2 separate regions of the Homo sapiens genome follow, and region 1 is linked to region 2. The links are contacts of gene promoters, found by promoter capture Hi-C in blood cells and fetal thymus (Javierre and others, 2016). All regions are on one chromosome and are shown on one strand. The core of a region is centred on a gene start or on the middle of the fragment in contact, and the rest is flanking DNA. Distances in the headings are between cores, read along the strand shown. Region 1 has its middle 46 kb from the start of C7orf33. Region 2 holds the start of C7orf33 (chromosome 7 open reading frame 33).

Region 1 (4,785 bases), core at 402-2,901, 47 kb before region 2:
GCAGCTGGGACTACAGATACACACCATCACACCTGGCTAATTTTTTAATTATTTGTAGAGACAAGGTCTCACTATGTTGCTCAGGTTGGTCTCGAACTCCTGGGGTCAAGCGATCCTCCTGCCTCAGCCTCGCAAAATGCTGGGATTACCAGTGTGAACTGCTATGCCTGGCCAAGAGGGCTCTTTTGATGACTGACAAAAATGCAATCAAACTAGCTTATGGACAAATGGAATTGGTTACTGCTCTAATAGTGAGACCCAGGGTCTTGCATCGGGCTTTGGACGCTCCTGGTCCTAGGCACTCGGGGGCTCTGGTTTGCTTTTCTTTGGGTGCCGTGCCTTCCTTCTGAAGCTTCCATGTGGCCAGGGAAGACAGCCGCAGCATCTTCACAGTTCATGATCTAAGACGACTCCCTCTCGTCTCCATATGCCAAATCCCACTTAGGGCAGGTGCTTACTCCTTGGCCCTATCACTGCGGACAGGAAGATGGGGTACCACTGATGGTGAAGCTTTGGTTTGCGTTCCCTCCATTTAGGCCAGGTAGGAAATTTTGATTGACAGTTTTGTAGATCTCCGGTGAAAACAGAAATGCAGGGCAGACAGAAACAGTTGATATCCACCCCACTGGGTTTGGATTTGGATATTTTATTAGGCTGGTGCAAAGGAAATTTTTTTTTTTTTTTTTTTGAGGCAGTCCCGCCCTGTTGCCCAGGCTGGAGTGCAATGGCCCAATCTTGGCTTACTGCAACCTCCACCTCCTGGGTTCAAGCGATTCTCCTGGTAATTACTTTTAATGGCAAAAACTGCAATTACTTTTGCACCAGCCTAATATTTTTGGACATGCCAATATCGAGTAAAGGATGGGGTGCAGGGAAGAAATGGTAAGAGTTCATTGACAATGTGGTTTCGAGCTCAAGAGAGAGGAGTTACCCACAGAGAGGCTGTGACTAAAGCCATGGTAGTGAGTACATTTCCTGAAAAAGAGAATAGCCATTGGAAAGAGGTTGGAGGATGGACTGAACATTAGGGAATTTCTATATTTGGTAAAGAAAAAAGGAAGAAAATACAGGAGTAGTCAGAGAAGGGCAGGCCATCCAGAAAATAGAAATTGATGGAAGCCAGTGAAGGAGAAGGTTTCAAGAAGGATGGAATGTTGGTAGCTTTCAGAGGTGAGAACTGAGAAAAGACAGGGATCATTAGGTACTTAGGAGATCACTGGTGACCTCCTCATGGCTTTGGGGGCGCGGGTCAGTGTCATTAAAAATGGTTACTTTTTTTTAAAGACAAAGAAATTTTATCGCCATAAATTAATCCAGTAGGTATATCTGAGAAAGCACACATCAGTTGGTTAGAGCAACAAGCGCCTCTACCACGTTGCCCATGTGTTCCCGCAAGCCGCCTTCCGCTGCTGCTCGAGATATCTCCATCTCGGTCATTACCAGCTCCAGATCTTCCTTCTTGATACTGCCTATTGCCAGTTCTTTCTTCCCTTCCTGTTTGGCTTTCTGCTCCCGGGACCTTCTGTCTCCAGTCACAGACATGGCCGTCTCCAGATTGGAACTCTGATCTCCTTCTCCTCTGCATAGTCGGTGACCCGCTCCAAGTCCGCCGCACTGCTGTCAGTCATGTTTCCGTGGCTTCTCGGGAGGCCGCTCTGGGCCACGGGTCTCAGTCTCTAACTCCAGCTCCACATCCCCCTCGGTCGCCGCATCTATTTCACCACGCCGCCGCATAAGCCCCACCTCACGGCGACAAATAAAAGGTTACATTTTTTAAAAAACCTACATTTTTAGGGGCGTCATCAGCCATAAAGTTTATGGGCAAGGTGAGACATTTGGATGCAGACTCAGAAAGTTTGAATTTATTGGCACTTTAATAAATAAATGATGAACTCTTTTGTGTATCTGCAGTTGGCTTATGAGGAAACTGAGTCCCAGAGAGGGGCAATGACTTATACAAGTTTTCCATGGGGCCTGGTGGAAGACTAGGACGGTCAACAGCAGCCTGGAGAGCCTGGAGTCTGCGTCAATATGCAACCCTAGCCCTGCACGCTGGGCGTTTGCCTGAGGTTTCCAGTGCACCGGAGGCGCGTACTCGTCTGCCTAAGAGGGTGAGGAGGGTGAAGGGGATTGATGAAGCAGGTAACCATGGCCCTGGAGAGGCCATCCTCATTGAATGGGGACCACTGTTACTCAGCTCAGCTGATCACTGCCACATGGGAATGAGGCCCTAGGATTGTCCAGATGTGATTTTCTAAGGGAAGTTGGGAATCTGAAGTTGGGAACGTTTATGCGAACTTCCCCACTCTTTCCATATTGGCAGCTAATTTAAAAACATAAAACCACTGTGTGAGTAAACAGGTTTGTGGGTTGGGCTGCCAGTTTATACCCTCAGCTCTGTATGTGAGGAATAGGGGCGGGAAAAAAAACAGCCAGGATGTGGAGAAAAGATGACATAAAGAGGCTCCACCTACAGTTCAATCTGGCAAGAGGCCTGGGTGTCAAAATTGTTCCTGAGGTCCTGAAAATCTGGACACCTCTAGTATGTCAGCACAGAGTGTGTGACTTTTAAAGCCACCAGTGGTCTGGATCTTAGTCTCCTCTTACCTTACACAAATCTGGAAAATTCTTTAGTGATTGCTATTTATTCCTTTTGTTTTATTTCTTTTATAGTATTATTATTTTCTTTATTCTTTCCTTCTATTTTGAGAACTTTGGTATTTTCCTTTTTGAGTGAAAAATACTATGGATTCTGGATTAAAATAGCACAGGAGAAGTTGAAATAAGCTTTTGTCAGTTTTGCAGATATGGTTATTGCTATGACATCTCATTCATTCAAGTCTTTATTTTTGCCTATGTACAAGACAATGTGTTATAACTTGCAAGGTGTAGGAAATGAATAAGAACAACCTGTACCCATATTCTTGAGGCATATAATTAGGAACTGGAGAAAAAGGACCAACATAAATAGATATAATCATTCATTCCTGCAGCTTCCTGACCATGATGTCTACCACGTGCACATTCACAAAGTTACAGTTTAGTGCAGAGAAAGACATGTGTACAGATAATTTTGGTGTTATTCATGTGCTATAATAGAATGATCAAGAAACTTGGAGGAGCAGAAGAGAAAGCACCTCATTCTGCTTGCATGAGCTGAACACTTTAGGGAGGCTTCACGGAGGAGGTGTTGTTTAAGATAAGTCTTTAGGATGACCAGGGATTTGCACAGCAGATGAAGGGTGGCCAGGGTTTCTAGGAAGAAGGTGCAGCACCTACAAACTCAGAGGCATAAAGGAACATCACACATTCAGGGTGTGATGGATGAGAAACCAATATGGGAAGTTCCTCAGGAGAGCTACAAGCCAAGCACTATGCGATTCTCATTTACATCCCGGTCCTGCTGTTCCATGTGAAATGAGTCAGGGCAGGTGGATGTCTTAGGCACACCAGGCATTCTGGTGCCGGGGCATCTGCCTTATGTCCTTTACCCCTGAGTATTTTATTGGTCTTCTACTGGAAAGAAACCATCCATGTCATCCAGGCTTGGGGAAAGTACAGGAGCATCTACAGATTCCTTCAAAATGTATATTTCACTTCCCATATTTAAAGCCAGGAGATGGCCGGGTGCAGTGGCTCACGCCTGTAATTCCAGCACATTAGGAGGCCAAAGCAGTTGGATCGCTTGAGCCCAGAAGTTTGAGACCACCCTGGGCAAGATGGTGACACCTCGTCTCTACAAAAAATACAAAAATGAACAGAGTGTGCTGACGTGTGCTTATAGTCCCAGCTACTTGGGAGGCTGAGGTGGGAGGATCACTTGAGCTCAGGAGGTCAAGGCTGCAGTGAGCCATGATTGCAACACTACATTCCAGCCTGGATGACAGAGTGAGGCCCTGTCTTAAAAAAAAAAATTACAAATAAAGCCAGAAGACCAGGTGTTTTTACATGAGTACTACTTGCTACCATAATCCACAGAAAAAGTGTCTCATATTAGTATGGAGTTAGTAATTCTTTTTCATTAGATGGTAGGCTATGTTTCAAATAGGAATTTCAGCCAGGTGCTGTGGCTTATGCCTGTAATCCCAACACTTTGGGAGGCCAAGACAGGCGGATCACCTGAGGTCAGGGGTTTGAGATCAGCCTGGCGAAACCCAGTCTTGTCTAAAAATACAAATATTTGCTGGGTGTGGTGGTGGGTGCCTGTAGTCCCAGCTACTCAGGAGGCTGAGGCAGGAGAATCACTGGAAACGGTTGTGGCGGCGGGGGGGTGGTGTGTGGAGGTTGCAGCGAGCCGAGGTCACACCACTGCATTCCAGCCTGGGCGAAAGAGGAATTTAATGGAGCGATCTATTATCAACTTACATTGAATTTTGTCATCCCTGTGACTATTTATTGAATAGTTACAATACACATAACTAGCTATATGAGTTTGATTTTAAAGAAAAGATAATGCTTTTTACATTTGATTCCTAGAAATCAGTATTGTTGCCTTAATTCGTAATGAAAAAGAAAAATACCAATCAAAGGAAAGGTATATTTTCTTTTTTAGCAGAGCTGTGCAGTACAGTAACAGCCCAAGGGTAGAGTCTGGGCTCATGCCCTGAGCCATCCGAGGTGGGGCCTGGGGCCTCCCACGAGTGAACAGCACACACCTGAGGCCAGACCACACTCTTTTGCTTCATTTACACGTGTTAGTTCTCATGAACTATATCATAAATACATGTGGGTTTTCAGCCAATTTTTGGTAAGACAGTTTGTGTTTCAGGGCATTTTATCTACAGA
Region 2 (4,824 bases), core at 145-2,644:
ATATCAGAAGATACTCTGAGCCTGTGGCATGTGTCAGTTTGGGGCACTGTGCCACAATGAGGGTGTGGGCAAATGGGAAGAAGCCAGGAACTGCAACATGGGAGAAAACAAATTAGGGCTGGAGAACTAGGTGGGGACACCTGTGGTTCCCATCAAACTGAACACCCAAAGCTGGAGATAAATACAAAGTGGGAGCTCATACTTTAACCAAAAATGCCTGCCTAGTGGGAGGCAGGGGCTTGGGGATCAGGAGGTGTCAAAGATCAAAGACAGGCAAAGAGTTAAGGATCCAGGTCTTGCTGGGCATGGGTGGCACTTCGGGATGTTGAAGTGGGAGGATCGTTTGAGGACAGGAGTTCAAGACCAGCCTGGGCAACATGGCAAGACCCCATTTCTACAAAAAATAAAAAAATTAGCTAAGCCTGATGGCACATGGCTGTAGTCCTAGCCACCCGGGAGGCTCCTCTGGGAGGATCACTTGAAGCCAGGAGGTTGATGCTGCAGTGAGCTATGATTGTGACACTGCACTCCAGCCTGGGTGACAGAGCAAGATACTATCTCTAAAACAACAACAACAACTCCTGGTCTTTAAAGCGAGAGAAGAGACAAGAATCTAGGCAAGGAGAAGGGAACAGGTGCAAAGCTTGTGCCAAAGGGTGACCAAGATAGAGGCTTCCTGTGGACCCATCTCCAGGGCAAAACATAGTCTGAGAACAAGCGCATTCCTTCTACCACACTGTGTGAAAATATACAATTTTTACGCTGGAATTTTTCAAATCAACATGACTCAGGCTAAACACAAGAATACTCAGTGGAGTGTTTTGTGAGGATTCTTTTCCCTAAGAAGATTCCAGGCCTTCTTTGGGGCAGTGAATTAATCTCTGTCTCTCTCTTTACTTCAATGTCGTTAAGCCCAGTTCCATAACACATAGTAGAGAGTCAAAAACATTCATGGATTGAGTGAATGAATTCTCAAGAGATACTGACTGACTCAAAGAGCAGTTGATTCATCTTAGAATCATTAACTTACCTTATGTCTTCCCGTGGCATATGACAAGTTAAATTGACCTGGACCGCCCCTAACGTGGACCCAAACAGCGACTGCCCTCCCACTCAGGCGAAGGTCAATCCGGCGCCTTGCCCCACTGGGCAGGAGGGCTTCACATTCACATTGGGGGCCTGGAAGTCTCCAGGGACACTCTTCAAGGCTGAGGCTTTGAACTTCCACTTGCATTTTGGCAAAGGTAATTACCTTTCCTGGATGCTGTCAAGGAGAGCGGCGCTTCACCACCAATATCTAAGATCAAGTCGCACGGATCCCCAGGGTCAGTAGGAGGATTCAGACACAGGCTGGGCGCCTCGCTCCTGACCACTGGATTGGCATCACCATAAGTAAGGTCACAGCTGAGTAGAAAATGCCTGAGGCAAAGTGGGGGTGAAAGAGGGGCCACCGAGCAGTGTGATAGGCAGCCCCTTCCGCCAGCTCATTATCCCCACCTGCTCCTGTCGTCTCCTATTAGAATCCTAATGCGAGTTTACGGAAAGTCAGCTGGAGCTTGTCCTCCATGTAATTCAGATCACGTTGCCTGCAGCTCTTAGGTACTCAAATAAACAGAAGGACTAATATTACTACTGAAAAAGTAATTAAGGGCATTCATTGTAAAGTAATAATGATTACCTCACCCTCACCATATGGCCAGAACTGATTAACACCTAGAAGAAATGATCTAAAACCTCTACAATCAGAATTAATGTCTCAGGTCATAATGAGAAACATTTTGTAGCGGGGTTTGGCAGGGAAGGATGAAAAAGTGGTTGGGAGTTTACTAAATCAAGAGGCACAAACAAAATATTGAGGATAACATCCTTTTTCAGGATTTTTCATCTCATTCAGATTAGACAAGTTGCATTTTTAGTGTAGAACCCATATCACAAATGCAAAAAATATTACAAGATTTACACATTGGAATTGTCACTTAATTGGATGAGTTTTTCCTCCATTGTTTCTTTTATAATGATGAGGAATTGATGGAAGAATCTCCATCGAGGCTGGCAGTTTCTTAAATCACCAGGGAAGGGCTTAGCCCACTGATTGAAAATCTTCTTATCGTAAATTACTGGTTAAAATGCTATTTGTTGTCAGGAGTATCATGGAGTGTGATTTAATCTCTTAAGATTAGTTAAAGTGGTAGAAATGTTAGCATTTCTGGGTAATGCCAAACAGGTTAGCATTACAAAAGATGCCTAGAAAGATACGGACCCATTTGGAAGACAAGGTTGCTGTAAAAGCCAGTTTGCAGGTGCACCGTGGGGGGTGACAGGATGCCCTGGGCTGTTCTTGATTAGTGCGTGTGCCCTAGGGTCATGTGGTGAAGCATAAGGAAGCAGAATTTGGGATATTTTTCCCACCAGAATCCCTAAGATTACTCTGTGTACTGCTGGGGAAAAGCTTAATGGGCTCAACACCACCCTTGAGGGAAGGCAATAATGGAATCTCTTTTTTCTGCAAATACTTCCTTGGGTGGTGCATCATGATTCCCTGAGGCAGGATTTCCTGCAGCAGAGCTGGAGGGGCTGGAGGGGCTGGTGGGGCTGGTGGGGCTGGTGGGGCTGGAGGGGCCAGAGGGGCTGGTGGGGCTGGTGAGTCTAGAGGTGCTGGAGTTCCAAGAACTTGGCCTGGAATCTTGAACCTGCAGCCATACATTCGGACTCTAGCTTTGCCTTTTTACTTATCTGTCTTTGACCACTAAAGAAATAGACAGACCTCATAATATTATTTCCTCGACTGCCTCTTAAAAGTCAAAACCTTAAGTTAAGGACACCTCACATTTTGGTCAAGACCAGTGGACCTAGGTAAGAGTAAATCAGAGAATTCCCAAGGTGGAAGAAGTTATTCCTAGACAACGAATGAATCCCCTGGATTTGGGTTGCGGAGTGAGGTGACCAGCTGGTCACCCTGGGGGTGGACTGAGCCAAATGCCTAAGCCTCATTGTTGTTTTAATAACCCAAGTTGGATTCAGGGAGTACCTGTGCAATTCTGTGATTAGCACATCGGGCAGTGAGATTTCCGCACGTTGTAGCTGAGAGGCCGGCTGCTGAGACGACCCCTTAGGGAAAAGTGGAAAACTCTGCCTCCAGAATGGAGATCTGGCTTTCTCTTCCCCTGCTCAACCTGAGCTCAGGGATTCTGTGCCCCTCGCTCTCCGGACAGTTTTTACACCAGATTATCTTCTAATTGCTGTGAATGCAGCCGCATCAGCAAGTCCCCATCTGGGGACATTATCAATTTCAAACCTTGGTCAGTCATGAAGCCCCATTGAAGGACTTCATCCTGAAATCCACGAACAAAGAACGAGATCCCGCAATGCTGTCATCTAAAATGCCTGAAAATGCCAGTGCTGCGACAGATGGCCCTGCTCGGTGTAAGTGACAATGCCCCCAGCAGGCCATTGATTCTGTTTGTGAAATTTAAATATCTGAACAATGACTGATGGTGCTAGGGAGAAGTGTACCTTCAATCCCCCCGACTCCCACCCCCGCCAGGGTTCAGCATATCTCAGTAGTCCTAGTAAAAATAGGTCAGTAAACAGCCTTATTTATGGTGAATGCTTGGGGTCCCTAGGTCATTGAGCCACGAACACTCGTGGAACTGAGGTGTGGCTGGGGATGGGGTTGGAAATAACTCGTTAAGCAGAAAACAGTGTATTCCACATGCACAGAATACAGAAGGAACTGAGTTGGCAGCGATCAAGACAGTTCATGGGAGGAACTCAGAGGAAAATCAATGCTTTCTCTGTGAGAAAGTTTTGAACACTTTTCCCTTTAAGAAAAGTGAAAACTGTCGTTTAATTTTAAGGAACGTGATCATTATAAAAACCTGGACTCTTTCAAATTACAAAGTTTTGTTTATGAAAGCAAGAGTTTGAAATGTCCCTTTAAGATAGAATGAGGAAAACCAGGATTATATTAAGCCTTGTTTATCAACAGCTCATAACAATGTGTGTTTCTGCATGCTTTTCCCTTACTCTGAAATAGGTTTTACTTTGCTTAAATTAGTAATTAGTAAATATTAATGCTTTATTGGTTTAATAATACATGTATTAAAAGCAGTTTATTTTCACAGAAAAAGCCTAATTATTTGGTATTGTATGCTACAAAAGAGAAATGCCATAATTCCCAGTGGGGGCTGTGGATACTGGACCCCCATAACCAGGTGCCAGAGATCACGTGGTGTTCAAAGTCCAAATTATAAGCATAGTGCCGAGGACTCTGAGGATGACTTCTGCACATCTTCCGAAAAGGGATGGAACAGCAGAATGAGTGCCATCATGGCTTGGATGGTTGGAGGTGCTTTGGGCATGAAGACCCTCTAACTGTGAAGTTAGAGGCTTCCAATGTTAGCTCTGTTTTAAGTATATGCACAAAGTCACAGTCTCATAGCTGAGCTATTAAAAATAAAATCAACACCAAGATATACTTGAGAATGACTTTTTTATCACTCGAAACACTTCCTTTTATCATCGATTACACATGCCTTTGATCTTTGTCTTGTGTGAAAGTCTACTATAAAAATGTTTATCGTCATTGTGTCTATACTGATGAATTTAAAGGGTCTAGAAAATATTTCAGAAACAAGGTTTTGGCAGCCCCCCCAAGCATTAATTAGCATCTGTCTTAGAAACACCCATGTGCAAATGCAAAGCTCCAAAAGCAACTTTTGACCCTTTCCTTCTGTGTTGATTGTTGCATGGATGGCAGTGGCATGGTGGAAAGACACATGGGCTCTGCAGCATTAGTGTTAAAACCCTCCATGGGATTAGACT

Evidence for each region. Contacts are between HindIII fragments. The CHiCAGO score rates a contact against its expected background, and 5 or more counts as called.
Region 1: a fragment that was not itself captured here is called in contact with the fragment with the promoter of C7orf33 in region 2 in 2 of 17 cell types (activated CD4 T cells and naive CD8 T cells); the score reaches 6.1 in activated CD4 T cells.

The regions. Positions count from the first base shown.
Region 1 is chr7:148,634,149-148,638,933 of GRCh38, reverse strand. It overlaps the pseudogene LOC643438. Among named protein-coding and RNA genes, the nearest start is that of C7orf33, 46 kb to the right of the region's middle. The HindIII fragment of the contact is 2,277 bases long and covers 513-2,789 here.
Region 2 is chr7:148,587,336-148,592,159 of GRCh38, reverse strand. It overlaps C7orf33 (chromosome 7 open reading frame 33), which reads right to left and starts at 1,394. Exons shown (of 3, transcript NM_145304.4): 1 at 1,031-1,394. The coding sequence starts at 1,234. The HindIII fragment of the contact is 1,806 bases long and covers 646-2,451 here.